Regions from separate parts of the Homo sapiens genome. Here all the other regions are linked to region 1. Evidence: promoter capture Hi-C in human tissues and cell types (Jung and others, 2019). All regions are on one chromosome and are shown on one strand. The core of a region is centred on a gene start or on the middle of the fragment in contact, and the rest is flanking DNA. Distances in the headings are between cores, read along the strand shown. Region 1 holds the start of BHLHE41 (basic helix-loop-helix family member e41). Region 2 overlaps BCAT1 (branched chain amino acid transaminase 1). Region 3 overlaps STK38L (serine/threonine kinase 38 like).

Region 1 (4,968 bases), core at 1,716-4,215:
TACCTTAGAGGGTTGTGGAAATGATTAATGACTTAATACATAAAAAGCTCTTTGAATGCAGTCTGGTACTCTAATCTTAAAGGCTATATAGTTGTTAGCTATTGTTACACCCTTCTTGCGCAAAGGGATATTCAGAGGCATCAAACTATGCCCAATATTCCAGAAGCCAAGAGTTTGAGAAAGAACAGGAATGGGATTCAAGTTTAAGGGAAGTGGGTAACCAAGAAGAGTCACCAGGGTGAAAGATCAAAGAAAAAAAAGGGCAAAAAGCAAACAGGAGATTGACAGAACTACAGAGAAATGGCAAAAGCTGGCATTTAACAGGGAAAAGGTAGACAGAGAACATAAGGGAAAGGAAGATAAAGAAGAAATGAAAAAGGGAAACATGAGTTAAAAGGTGAATATGTAAAGGAAAGACAGAAAAGAAGAGGAAAAGGGGATCAAGAACAACAAAGGAGATAAAAATTGGGAAAAGACCCCATTTGCAGTTTGAGTAGGTATCACGGGAAAAGGGTACGGAAGTGGGGAAGCTTGGGGCAGAAAGGATGGGGGGAGAGAGGAGCCTCAAAGAGATAACAGAAAAAAGCTTCATGTGTCATTTGCAGCTTTTTGTCCCTTTAAATTATGGGGTGCTGCAAGCTTATTTAACCCACCTTTGAGCCTCAAGGCTCCTGATCGTGTTCCTCCTATTTCAACTTGCATTTAATCTCTGCCCCAGACTTAGCTTCTAAGGTTTGCCCTGGTCAGATGTCTGCCTTGTGTTTTTAGCCCGACGAGGCCAAAATGCAATGATCTTGTCTTTATTTCATTTTCCCTAACCAGTCATCCTTTTCAAGTGAAATTTAGCTCTGGAGCAAATATTTACATCCCCTTTCTACTCCAAACATTCAGAAATCTAGAAGGGGACCTGGTGTTTTAATTTTTAAATTATTCACCTAACGGCATTCCCATTTTTAGTCAATTAAAAAGAGGTAAAAATGATACAGTACTGCAGGAATAGGTCGCTTTTAGGGCTCCAACGTGCCCTCCCCATCGAAGGGTCTTAATTACCTAACCTTTTGGAAATAGGAGAGAGGTCGGACCGAGATTTAAAATAAAGTCAGCATTTTAAAAATACTTTTTAAATTAAGAACCATCGTGATTAAATTGCCTGTTTGGTGCAAAATACGTTCCTCTATTTGAGGAAGTCGAGAGACCTTAAAAGGCCCTCTAAACAGATGAACTGAACGGACCGCGAGCGTCTCCTCACGCCGGGGTGATCCTGGGCCGCCGCCGCCGCCCGAGTCACGAAGCCAGACGCAGTGCGCGTCTCCGCCCAGGACTCCGGAGACTGCAGCAGCGCGAGCGGCCGCCGCGGCCCGGGCTGCTCCTGGAGTCGGGGAGGAGACGCGACTCCCGCAGACACGTGACCTCCTCCCAGCCGCCGCTTCCCGCGACCCAGATCCGTCCCCGGAACCCGTGCCCGGCGGGGCGGGCCGGGGGACACGTAGCGGGCGCCCCAGTCCCTGCTGCGCCCTGGTGCATGTACCTTTGGCGTTCTTCTCCCCTCGGTTCACTTATCACCGGCAATAATCAACGTTTCAGAGATCACCCCGGGGAGAATGTAAATATCCCTCTCTGTGCAGGAAAAACCTTGGTTTTTTTCTCTATGTCTTTATGTATATCTAGAGAAATATATATATAGCCTCCATCCCACCCCTGGGAGTCCCTCAGGACATGCCTTCCCCTGGGCTGGCAGGGCGGCGTGGGCAGTGCGCATCCCCGGGCACCTCCCGGTAACTCTCACTAGCAGTGAGTCATGCTCCCAGGGTGGCTCTGGGGAAAGGTAACCCGGCTCTTGCTGGCCTGTGATTCCCGGCGCCGAGCGCCGCGGCTGCAGGGCGAGCGCGCGCGCGCACGGGTTCCCCGAGCAGTGATGTGGCAGCAGCGGCAGGTCGGATCACGTTGCTGGCCCTGTGCTGGTACCCGTTTGAGACCGGATTAAGGAGGGAGGCTTTGGAGGTGCCAGCGGTAGTAAACGTGGGCTCTGCACACTCCGGGCGTCTCTTATCGCGCGGGGGGGCGGGGGGATGGGGAAAGCACGTAGCGTCACCGGAGGCTCAGAACGCGGCAGAGTTGAGCGGGCGGGTGATAAATGCTGCATAGCTTTTCTGTGGTAGCCCCTCTCGTGCCACCCCCTCTCGTGCCACCCCCTTCTCCCTTCCCAGCCCCCACTCAACCCCGGCTCGCTCCCCGCCGCGTTCCTCCAGGAGCACACGCGGCCCCAAACGTCGTCATCTGCTGCTGTGATTAGTGGCACCGCAATTCCGGCTGCTGCGGGGAAGTTTAGTTGGCCCAGGGACGCCGTGTCACCGAAAGACACTTGGATTGCGACATTCGGACCCAGTGACAACGTTTTCATGTATCTTAAATCCTTCAAGGAGCGGATTGCAAGTTGCTTCTTCTCGAGGCAACCTCTCCACCCAGCGCCAAGGAGTCCCTCCAGGCCACTGATCAGTGAGCAAACAAGTCTCCAAAATTTCCTTTGGGACTCAAGTTTACCCACCGCGAATTCTCTTTTCACTTCCTTTCTATGGTTCAAACCAACAGCACAATCGGTGGAAAAGCAAAAAGCCACGTTCACATTCCTGCACCGTAACAACGGACGAACCCAGGGAGTCGCATTTTGGAGCCAAGGAAGCTCAGGCTGCCCCGCACCCCTGCACCCCCACTCCCCCCTCCTCCTGCCGACTGCATCGCCTTTGGGAAGATGAATAGCTTGGCCGAAGTTGTTTTTCCTTTCCGGTGGCCCTGATCAGGTGTCCCCGCCCCCTCCTGCCGTTCGCCTTCTCTCGCCGCCTTCTCCCGACGCCCCCGCCCGGCCCGGCCCCTCCTCCCCCGCCCCCCTCCGGGCTGGACCGCGGATGGTACGTTCCGCACGTGAGCTGGGTGCTGGTCTGGCCGGCGACGCGCGTGCCCTGTGGCCAAACACTGCCTGGAGTGAGAGCAAACTACCAGCGCAGTGGGGCCGGCGCGAGTGTGCGTGTGTGTGCGTGTGTGTGTGCGAGCGCGGTGGAGGGGGGGGACCAACTGCTTCACACTTTCAACACTGCACTGAAGAGGGAGAGCGAGAGAGAGACTGGAGACGCACAGATCCCCCCAAGGTCTCCCAAGCCTACCGTCCCACAGATTATTGTACAGAGCCCCAAAAATCGAAACAGAGGAAACGAACAGCAGTTGAACATGGACGAAGGAATTCCTCATTTGCAAGAGAGACAGTTACTGGAACATAGAGATTTTATAGGGTAAGGTGCACGCACCCTTGCGAATATCTGTCTAGGCTTTGGTTTGATTTTTTTCTTCTCCAGAAAGTGGTATGGAGCTGGCGAGGGCAGAGCCCCTCCCCGAATGGGTGCCTGATGCTGATTTCTGTTTTGCAGACTGGACTATTCCTCTTTGTATATGTGTAAACCCAAAAGGAGCATGAAACGAGACGACACCAAGGTAAGTGTAAGTTCCCGATATTCCTCATAACCTGCATGGGTAGTTAATTAGAGCCATTGATTTCACAGTGAAGCTCTGCCCGCAAATATATTCCAGCCCCTGAGCTTCCCCAACTGTGAATTTTAAGTGGCTTGCTGGGTACTCTCAGGGGGATATTAAACATCATACCTGAATTTAAATTGCATTGCAGAACAGTCCAGAGGAAAGAGGTTTCTTGGGTGTAGTTTATCACATAGTATGTTTTATGGTGGGGGGGCGGGGGGGGCAGACGAGGGTAATATCCAATAAGTGAATGTTTCGCTTACTGTTTTCTCTTTTCCATGACTCTCATATATTAAGGATACCTACAAATTACCGCACAGATTAATAGAAAAGAAAAGAAGAGACCGAATTAATGAATGCATTGCTCAGCTGAAAGATTTACTGCCTGAACATCTGAAATTGACAGTAAGATGCACATTTTCATTCTTTGCTGCTCTCCAAGGGCGTGTTAATAGTCTGGTGCGACTCCCAGAAAATATAAGAATAAATGTAAATATAAGTTCCTGACTTAAAACTTGTGCTATACCGTACAGAGTTTCCCGCAAACTGGAGTAGGTGCTCCCAGCTGAAGGCAAGAAATCATTTATAACCTGTCTTGTGGAAAGCTCAAGAAGTAAAAGAACAGTACTTCTTTCAAAGTGTTTGCTTAAATTGCTGTGCTGAATGGACAGCCAATTAAGCCAAATGTGTGTTTTTAAGTAACCAAGTGCCCGTTTCTTTTTTGCACCACTGCAGACTCTGGGACATCTGGAGAAAGCTGTAGTCTTGGAATTAACTTTGAAACACTTAAAAGCTTTAACCGCCTTAACCGAGCAACAGCATCAGAAGATAATTGCTTTACAGAATGGTAAGTCAGTTCAGGGAGGCCAGCCTACCCTGATGAAGCGGGGCAGCCCACAGGGGAGCAGTGTCAGGACTCCCTCACCCGCACCCCATCTCTTTCCGTGGGCTCATGGGTTCCCTCTCATTTGTTAAATTGCTTATACTTTCCCTTCATTGGAACGAGCCCATTTCCCGAAGCATCCTAGAGGCTTTCAGCAGAACTCGGAGGAATCAGGATTTAAAGTGGCGGTTGCACCCGCTCCACTTTGGTTTTCAGCTGGGAGGAGAGCGCCCTCTCCCCGCTCCGCACCTCCGCCACCCCGCTTCTCTCGTCAACTGGTGGATTATATCACTTGAATACTGGGGAAAAACCGAGATCACTTTAGTCGATGCAGGGCCCACGTGATAAGCAGATGTTTTAACGTGGGTATGTTTCTTCTTGCCTCCACTCCTCCGTCCCCCACCCCCATCCCTTCCTCATCCTAGGGGAGCGATCTCTGAAATCGCCCATTCAGTCCGACTTGGATGCGTTCCACTCGGGATTTCAAACATGCGCCAAAGAAGTCTTGCAATACCTCTCCCGGTTTGAGAGCTGGACACCCAGGGAGCCGCGGTGTGTCC
Region 2 (4,968 bases), core at 1,668-4,167, 1.2 Mb after region 1:
GGATTCCTCTCTGGACTAAAGATCCAATGAGAGGTGGTTTCTAGCTTTCTGCTCTTTCCCACAACACTCCGTCAGTGAGTCTTCTGGATGTCCTATAGGCAACTCACTGGATCCACTTGGTCTGTGGAAGAATCACTACCACATCCATTTCACCTTGGGCACAGACTAGAAGGTGAGGCAGTCATGTCCTGCAGTCACTGGGTAGCTTACAAGTGCTAATACAGCAATAGCTTAATTAGAGAGAGAGAGAAGAAGAAGAATGTTATGGAGCCTGTTTCTAGAGAGGAAACCACAATATCTTGATCAAGAGACCCTAAAACTGGAAGAACCAGAGCAGCTGGTATCAAAATGTGGAAAAAACTGAGATGTGGCAAGTGGTACAACTGATAGCCAAGGAGGAAAAATTTGTATCCCCCTGTAATCCCAGCACTTTGGGAGGCTGAAACAGGTGGATCACCTGAGGTCAGGAGTTCGAGACCAGCCTGGCCAATATGGTGAAACCCTGTCTCTACTAAAAATACAAAAATTAGCTGGGCGTGGTGGTGTGCACCTATAGTCCCAGCTACTTGGGAGGCTGAGGCAGGAAAATTGCTTGAACCTGGGAGCAGAGGTTGCAGTGAGCCAAGATCGCACCACTGCACTCCAGCCTGGGTGACAAGAGTTAAACTCTGTCTCAAAAAAATAAAAAGAAAAGTTTGTACCCTCTTCTTTTCTCTTGCCTCAGGATAACTGAGATTCTTATAATGCATTTATTGAACAAATATTTGAGGAGTACTCATTATGTAAGCATCAGACACTGCTCAAGGTCTTGAGGCTGTGAGGGTGTATTAGTCCGTTTTCACACTGCTATAAAGAACTACCTGAGACTGGGTGATTTATAAAGAAAAGAGGTTTAACTGAATTACAGTTCATCATGGCCAGAAAGGCCTCAGGAAACTTACAATCATGGCAGAAGGTGAAGAGGAAGCAAGGCACATCTTACATGGTGGCAGGAGACACAGTGAGAAGGGAGAAGTGCCACACTTTTAAACCATCAGATCTTATGATGATATAGGAGTTAAGAAGAAATCACTTAGGTAGATAGTGAGGGTACGGGAGTCCTTGGTAAGGCTTTTCTTTTAAATGAAAAGCAGCCCCACACATAGACAAGCAAGCTGGGAGCTTGCACGGGTGAATGCCGGCAGAAACTAGGAACCAGACACGTTAAGATGGCGGCTCCATTTTCCCTTCTCTGCCAGCCAAGTGTACAGTAAGGAGCAGACAAGCTGGTGCCGGCCAAGAGGAGAATTCATGTGCATAATAAGATTAGGGTGGGGTGACCAGCCTTCCCAGTGCGCTATGTGAACATCATACCTGATTGAACCAATCTGTGAGCCCTATGTAAATCAGACACCACCTCCTCAAGCCTGACTATAAAATCTGGTGCATTCGCCACCCGCCGGTGTTTCCTCTCAGAAGTCCCCTCTCTCTCATTAGAGAGAGGGCTGTTTTCCTTTCTCCTTCTTCTGCCTATTAACCTGTGCTCCTAAACTCCCTGTGTGTGTCTGTTCTGAATTTTCCCGGCATGAGAGGATGAACCTGGGGTATATACCCCAGAAAACATAGCCACTTAAGTGAGAACTCACTCACTATTCACCCCCAAGATCCAATCACCTTCGACCAGGTTCCTCCCCTGGCGTGAGGGGATTAAAATTCCACATGAGGTTTGAGTAGGGACACAGAGCCAAACCAAACCATATCAGAGGGTGAAGAGCAGGTAAAGTTGCAGCTCTCCTGCAACTTGCAGGGAAAGGCCATATAACACATGGTTATGAGCACAAACTGGGACTGGACTGCAGGTGTGTGAGCCCCAGCTTTGCTATTGAGTGACCACCAGCAAGTTATTAAACTGTGCCTCAGTTTTTTTGTTTATGAAATGGTGGTATTAGTACAACCCACCTCTCATGGATGATGTGAGGATTAAATAAAATAACATGTTGCCAGGCACAGTGGTGCACACCTGTAATCTCGGCACATTGGGAGGCTGAGGCCCGAGGGTTACTTGAGGTTAGAAGCCTGAGACCTGCCTGGCCAACATAGCGAAACCTCATCTCTGCTTAAAATACAAAAAAAAAAAAAAAAAAAAAAAAAAAAAAAGGCCAGGCGTGGTGGCTCATGCTTGTAATCCCAGCACTTTGGGAGGCCGAGGCGGGTGGATCACAAGGTCAGGAGTTTGAGACCAGCCTGGCCAATATGGTGAATCCCCGTCTCTACTAAAAATACAAAAATTAGCCAAGTGTGGTGGTGGGCACCTGTAGTCCCAGCTACTCGGGAGGCTGAGGCAGGAGAATCACTTGAACCTGGGAGGCAGAAGTTGCAGTGAGCCGAGGTTGCGCCACTGCACTCCAGCCTGGGCGACGGAGCGAGACTCCATCTCAAAACAAAACAAAAAAACCAAAAAAATTAACCAGGCATGGTGGCACACACCTGTAATCCCAGCTACTCAGGAGGCTGAGGCAGGAGAATCACTTGAACCCAGGAGGTGGAGGTTGCAGTGAGTTAAGATTGTGCCACTGCACTCCAGCCTGTGCGATAGAAGGAGACAGTCTGCAACAAAGATCCAAAAACAAATATAAAGCACTTATAACAGGGTCTGGTCTGAAATAAGTACTATGTAAGTACTGTAAGTATTAACTAATATTATTACAATTTATCCTCATATAGTAACATATCAAATATTTTCAGTCAGTGATGCAATATGAATAAAATGAAATGATGCAGTAGTGACAGAACTGAGAGAAAGCTGGTACAAATTTATACTGACTGGTCAGGGAAAGCTTCACAGAAAAGGTGAACTTTCAGCTGACACCTGAGTACCATGGTCTGGAGGTAAGAGTGTCCCATGCATATGGAACAGCAAATGAAACTTCCCAGAGCATAATCTGAGAGGGGAGATTTCAGGAGTGGAGCCACATCATTGAAGTTCCTTAGTCCTGGTAAGTGTGGATTTTATTCTAAGTGTGGTGAAATGCCCCTGAGAGGTTTTGAGTAGTAGATGGAATTCCATTTTTAAAAGTCACTGGTGAGTCAAGTAGTGTACTATGGTTACATTTTTTTCCCCTTATACCTCATTTTGTTTTTCCTGCAGTTAATTCTTGCATTATTTCCTTTTATTTACTTACCTTACTATATATTTATTATGAATTCTTTCCAATTCCCAACTTCCTGACAGCCTCTCAATGTAATTTTACTTAGGTTAAATGTATCTGACAGTTCATTTTCTTTTTTGTCTCTGTACTCTTTCTGCTACCATTCTCATTCTTGCACTAATTTGTGCTGGTTTCTCTCTGAGCCAGCTGCACAGCTGCCTGCCTAAGACTTCCTCTTGGCATCTTTTACCCTCTCTCTGTGTTACATCCCCGGTTTTCTGAATCGTGTGGCGTTCTCCTTTTTACTTTACTTCCTCATTTGTGTTGCACGTATGCTCTAGTTGTTTTTAGATAAAGAGTGCATCAGAGGTAGATGTTTTGATTCCTTACATGCCTGACTTTTTGTTCTACTTTTGCTCTAGGTTAATACTTGATTTTGAATAATATCCTAGGTTAGAAATGATTTTTCGTCAGAATTTTAAGGGAATTGCTTTTCTGTTGTCTAGTTTCCTGTGTTACTGATAGGAAGTCCAAAGGGGCTCGTATTTCAGGTCCTTTTTATGTGTAACCTGTTTTTTGTTCCTTGAGGTATTCAGGGTCTCTTTTTATTGCTAATTTGGGGAGCTTTATCATAACATGGGTCCTTAGTCATTCATCCTAGAAAATTTTCCTTTCCTATATCTTTGATGATTTCGTCTCCTCTGCTTTCCCTCTTTTCTCATTCTTAAACTTCTATTTGTTTGACATTAGACCTCCTTGTTTGATCTTCTAATTTAATTTTTCTCTCCTAGTGTCCAATTTTTGAGGTGGGAGAAAGATCTCATCAATGTTATCTTTCAGCCTTTCCCCTGAATTTTAAAATTTTACTCTTCATATTTCTTCTGATTAATCCTTTAAAAAAATAGCATCCTGGGCCAGGTGCAGTGGCTCACACCTGTAATCCCAGCACTTTGGAAGGCTGAGCGGGGAGTGGATCACCTGAGGTCAGGAGCTCAAGACCAGTCTGGCCAACATGATGAAACCCTGTCTCTACTAAAAATACAAAAACTTAGCCAGGCGTGGTGGTGGGCTCCTGTAGTCCCAGCTACTTGGGAGGCTGAGACAGGAGAATCACCAGAACCTGGGAGGTGGAGGTTGTAGTGAGCTGAGATTGTGTGCCATTGTACTCCAACCTGGGTGACAGAGCAAGACTCTATCTCAAAAAAAAAAAAAAAAAAAAAAGGGCCCTGTTCCACTGAGGCTTCAGTGCGGAGCATGGAGGGATACTACCTCCAAATTCCAAACACGTTTGACACATCTAAAGAACCTTCTAAAGGATGACTAAACTAATTCTGCAAGCTTTAGCCTCTAACTTATCTCCAATTTATATTTAATAGAAGGCTGGAAATTGAACAGAAAGGAAATAAGATTATTTGGAAATAAAAAATTGTCAGCCAAGCAAGGAGAGCTTGGCATTTCTGGAAACTTCTTTACCCTGGAAGAGGTAAAAAAGTGATTCTCCCATTCCCCCAACAGGGCATTCACTAAAAATTAAGTGAGAAATGCTTTGCCTAGAGGATCTGTAGCTTGCGAACACTTGACTTGTGCCACTGGTGTACGGAACATAGCAGTGTCAGCTCTGCCCTGGGACAGTCAAGGCTGGCTGGTGCTGCCTGTGGTTAGAGTCAAGAGAGGGGTCTTCAGTGGGTGCAGTTTGCAGTTCCAGAGTTTAGTAGAGCAAAGACGTCATGAACTATGTGAACTCTGAGGAAAGGTGTCATAGAAACACCTCAAAAGGACACTGTCTAAGAAGGCTACTTGCTGGGGCAAGGAGACCCCAGGGGTCAGAGGCTGTGTAGGG
Region 3 (4,968 bases), core at 1,423-3,922, 1.2 Mb before region 1:
CTATTTGTTCAGGAAAGAAAAGTAACTTCCCTTAAAGAAAGCAGGAATTTGCCAGTGTTGGTATTTCAGGAATTTTATATATATATATCTATATATTTTTATATCTATATATTTTTATATATGTTATATATATATTTATATATATTTTATATATATTAATATATATTTATATATATTTATATATTTACATTTATATATATTTATATTTATATATATTTTTTTATATATACATACAAACACATATATATATTTTTTTGAGAGAGCGTTTCACTCATGTTGCCCAGGCTGGAGTGCAATGGTGGGATCTCAGCTCACTGCAACTTCTGCCTCCTGGGCTCAAGCGATTCTCCTGCCTCAGCCTCCCAAGTAGCTGGGATTACAGGTGCCCACCACCACGCCCAGCTAATTTTTGTATTTTTATAGAGACGGGGTTTCACTGGCCAGGCTGGTCTCGAACTCCTGACCTCAGGCGATCCACCCGCCTCGGCCTCCCAAAGTATTGGGATTACAGGCGTGAGCCACCGCACCCAGCCAGGAATTATATTTTAACACATATTTTAAATTATCTTAAGATATATATTTGCAGCAGTAGTGACTTTTAAAAAGAAGCACACCTCTCCAAAAGCTCCTCTTCCTATAACTTTCAGAGACTCAAAGTCATCCAAGCCAAGTCTGGTCCTTTTGAGCCGTAAGAACTCTGTTTCTTTGCGAGCGTGTTGTGATCGACGTAACTTTTTCTATTAAAAAAAAACAATTTAAACGGATGATTTTATAATTAGGTTGTTTTGATGGAGCTTCTAGTATTAAAAGATGATACACGTAAAAATAAATGATAGCACTAATATGTAATATACTATTAGGCTAAAACAATTTAAAGAAAACTTTCTAAAATTTTTAACAACTGATAAATCTTTACTTTTGAGGTGGACTCCATTAAATATGTAATTCAGTCCATCATATTTGTCTATATATATATATATGTATAACTTATTCTTTCATCTATATGGTAACAATTCCATAAATAAAAATTAAATGTTAGTAAATGTTAATGGTATTCTGATACTGATTTTTATTCTGTCAGGAAATCTGCTTTGCTTCAATTCCTTAATTTCCAAGGTTGCTCTTTCACAACTACTGAGACTTGTGACAATAAAATAACAACATAATGGTAGTGTTTCCAAAGAGATTTACTTGTGGTAGAATTTACTCTTGGGCAAATTTTAATAAACTGCTTGAGACCTGGCATAGAACTTCCTGAAAATATAAAATTGCAAAAACAATTACAAGAAGAAGTCATTAAAATATCCAAGTTGGTAATTTCATAACTGATTCTACAAAGACCACAAAAAATAACTTCCATTAATAAGCAATACTGTGAAATACCTGCAGGTTACATTTGGAACAGGTATTTATTTTATTGTTCTAAACTTCATTTTTCACCCTCACCAATCAAAATTCTGTTTTTGGACATAGTTAGCTCCTAGTAGAGGAAACACTAAGTGGAAAAGAAACAATATCAGTGAAAAAATTTAACTCCTGTTCATCTTCAACTGAATCCTGCCAAGCTTTTAGTGGTTCAGTTTGGAGGGACAGACAAATCAAAATGAAAGTAACAGCTTAGAAACATTGCTTCTAAATGCAGCTCATGGTATAGCCTCTCCCTACTCCTGTATATATCTGTTTTTAAAAGGGTTAGGTGAACTATTAATTAGAAATATGTATGTAAACATGTATTATCAATGCAATGGAATTCTGATACTTCTAACAAAGTTAATCTAAGAAGATGAAATCAAGAAATGTCTTCAAACAGCTAAATGAAGTTATACACTAAGGCACACCAATGGTGTAAATTATGACAGTAATGAAGATAAAAATCAAGTACACAAATTAACAGGCTTTGCCTAATGTCTTTTTTTAATGTCTTTAATGTCTTTTTTTAAATGTCTTTTTCCACATCTGATATTGATTATAAAATACAATGGTACTATGGAAAAAGTAAGCAAACAACAATGAAAGATTATTTTTTTCAGTAAGAAGTGAGGCGATAAGCCGGGTGTGGTGGCTCACGCCTATAATCCCAGCACTTTGGGAGGCCGAGGTGGATGGATCATGAAGTCAGGAGATCGAGACCATCCTGGCCAACATGGTAAAACCCCGTCTCTACTAAAAATACAAAAATTAGCCGGGCGTGGTGGCATGCACCTGTACTCAGGAGGCTGAGGCAGGAGAATCACTTGAACCCGGGAGGCAGAGGTTGCAGTGAGCTGAGATCCCATTGCACTCCAGCCTGGGTGACAAGACCGAAACTCCATCTCAAATATATGTGTGTGTGTGTGTGTGTGTGTGTGTGTGTGTGTGTGTTTATAAAATTCCTGAAATACCAACACTGGCAAATTCCTGCTTTCTTTAAGGGAAGCTACTTAAATATCAGTTTTAACGGAGCTAAAATTACATTGATATAATTAAGAAAACAAATGTGGCCTGAAACAATAGTGAAGACTATTTTTTGCTGCTTTTTACCTAAATGCAATGACAAATACCCTTTTTTGCACATAGGTGTTCAAAAATACCTTTTGAATAATAAAAAAATAAATTACTAGTAAAACAAAAGAGAGCTCTAAAAAGTATCTGATTTTAAATTTTAAGACTAATTTTTAAAAGGCCACTTGGTGGCACTATAGTATCATGTCCTTTAAGGAAGTAGTGAGGAGGGTTTTTTTTTAATTACATAAAAGAATAAGAATTTTGAAAGTATTTTGAATCTCTCCCTTTATAGATTATAAAACAGTACAGTTGGATATAGTTGCAGAAATCCTGCTTAATCTGAATGGAAAAGATGACATCACTATACACAGTTTCATAAATTGTCTAGTAGTTTGTATAATGCAGCACTCACACAATTTATGTGGTTTTGGGCCCAGCCATTTAATAGCAAAAAGAGAGAGTCACAAGTGTATGGAACACATAATTCTATAAAAATGAGCATCACCTATAACATTGTTACATTAGTTAAAAAAAATTGATTCCATGATTTTAGTCTTAGAATCAGTGTTGCAGTCCAGAGGTAGCTGAATCAAATTCATGTTAAAAAAAAAATTGGTGAAAAAGCCTGTTGATATATCTACTCACAACCTGTATAGATTAAGTAGCCTTGAAAGACAAACAGTATCCTTGTGGTAATTGCATCCTTTCCTCTTCAAAGAAGACAATAAAAATCTGTGGACAGCTTAACATTTCACGACTCTCTTTTATAGCTTGAACTTGCCTATTTAGTTTTTCATTAGAGTAAATAACATTCCATGTTGGATGGGATTTTCTTAAGTGAGATGAAACTAGAAAGTGCTTTTCTTCCTTTCTCCATTCCTTTTTATATAGGTGTTCCTCAAACTCTCCATCTGTAGGGTGGCCAGTATTTGTATAAGACAGACAGTGCATACAAAATTTTTCAGATGAAAAGGGTTCAGCTAGCAACTTTATCTATTTTATTTTTATGAGACAATTTTATTTTTTATCAAACCCACCCCATATAAAGATGCTGTAACATACTTTATATTAAGGTTGAGAGAGCTTGTCTATTTTACAGAATTTGATATAATCCAGGCTCTAGCATGGAGCCTAATAATAAGCACCTGTGGAATTAAAAACATTTTTTAGAGAAAAACATTAGAAGTTTTATAAACTGGTATTATGGGCCACTGACTATTTTTTATGGAAAAATCATCTCCTATTTTCTACAAGTTATTCAGAAAAATTAGAGAAAATAGCTGTAAATGTAGTCAGTACTTGCTGATGCAGACCAGAAGTTGCAAACAGGAAGCTACAAACTATATTCAACCTACAGATATATTTGATTTGGACTGCAAGTTGTTTTTCAAAAGCAGGTGATTGGTTATTCTGCAAAAAAAGTCCAGATTACTAGCTTCTCTGGAAAAACAGGGCCTTGGCCACAGGGGCCAATGGTAGCAATCCTCTTTAGATGAGCCTTGGTTCCCTAATTTGTCAGTCCCCACCACTGATGCGAGTCCCTAGGAGGCATGTCCACATGGGCTGGGACTCTTATTACAGCAATGTGAAAAGTGGCATGTCTTTGCCAACAGATAAACTGTAAGGATCAATATTTAAGAAAATAATATTTTTTAAAAAGGAAAAATATTAATCTATTTCTTTGTGGAAGCAAAAAAAAAATCATATAAGTTGAATATGTAAACAAAGTATATCTGGATCAAAAGAATATAACCCTAGATGCCACTATGAAACCAACCTGGCCAGCTTATCTCACTTCCGTTGCCTGCTTAGTGTTTGGGCATCTGTTTTTGCAGTCTCTTCCCCTACACTTCAAATTAAGATCTTATGTTTAAGATTTCTATATCAATATAATGATGTATAATATATAAATGCAATTATATGGTTATTAATTATAAGAAATTTATAATTCTAACTTTAAAATGAGGAAAGATATGCTCAGTCTTATTTTTTCTCTATAGATTGGAATACAGATTTAAATCACTACCTTTCTCACTAAAATTTAAAGGACATAAATGAGCTTTTAAAATATTAATGACATGTAAATAATGATAGATAATTTTAAATGTAAAAACATCTGAGTTTTCTAGATTGAGTCAACTGATTAACAAAGTTACCACCTTTAGTATAAGTCATAAAATATTGTATTTGATTTAAACATTGCAACTATAAGGAACAGCTACAGTCCTAGGAAAGGTACAGGGAAGATTAGATACTGATTTGATTTCAATTAATCATTTGATGATGGTCTACTCTTTAAATATAGAAACTCTTTTTTTTTTTTTTTTTTTTTTGAGACAGACTCTCACCCTGTCACCCAGGCTGGAGTGCAATGGCATGATCTCAGCTCACTGCAGCCTCTGCCTTCTGAGCTCAAGTGATCCTCCCACCTGAGCCTCCTGAGTAGCTGGGACTACACACACAGGACACCATGCTTAATTTTTA

What was found. The method cuts DNA at HindIII sites, captures the fragments that hold promoters and counts their contacts. A contact is called where the count stands out against the background at its distance.
Region 2: a fragment that was not itself captured here is called in contact with the fragment with the promoter of BHLHE41 in region 1 in 1 of the 25 tissues and cell types used here (H1 embryonic stem cells).
Region 3: a contact is called between a fragment that was not itself captured here and the fragment with the promoter of BHLHE41 in region 1, in 1 of the 25 tissues and cell types used here (spleen).

Annotation. Positions count from the first base shown.
Region 1 is chr12:26,123,034-26,128,001 of GRCh38, reverse strand. BHLHE41 (basic helix-loop-helix family member e41) reads left to right here and starts at 2,965. Exons shown (of 5, transcript NM_030762.3): 1 at 2,965-3,284; 2 at 3,420-3,483; 3 at 3,823-3,930; 4 at 4,261-4,372; 5 at 4,834-4,968. The coding sequence starts at 3,223. It also overlaps a transcript of SSPN not described here. RefSeq lists a silencer at 1,384-1,553. The HindIII fragment of the contact is 3,249 bases long and covers 2,480-4,968 here.
Region 2 is chr12:24,930,278-24,935,245 of GRCh38, reverse strand. All of the region lies in intron 1 of BCAT1 (branched chain amino acid transaminase 1), which reads left to right. Among named protein-coding and RNA genes, the nearest start is that of BCAT1, 16 kb to the left of the region's middle. RefSeq lists an enhancer at 3,493-3,682. The HindIII fragment of the contact is 4,709 bases long and covers 563-4,968 here.
Region 3 is chr12:27,304,108-27,309,075 of GRCh38, reverse strand. STK38L (serine/threonine kinase 38 like) reads right to left here. Exons shown (of 14, transcript NM_015000.4): 4 at 615-737. Among named protein-coding and RNA genes, the nearest start is that of BMAL2, 26 kb to the left of the region's middle. The HindIII fragment of the contact is 4,420 bases long and covers 463-4,882 here.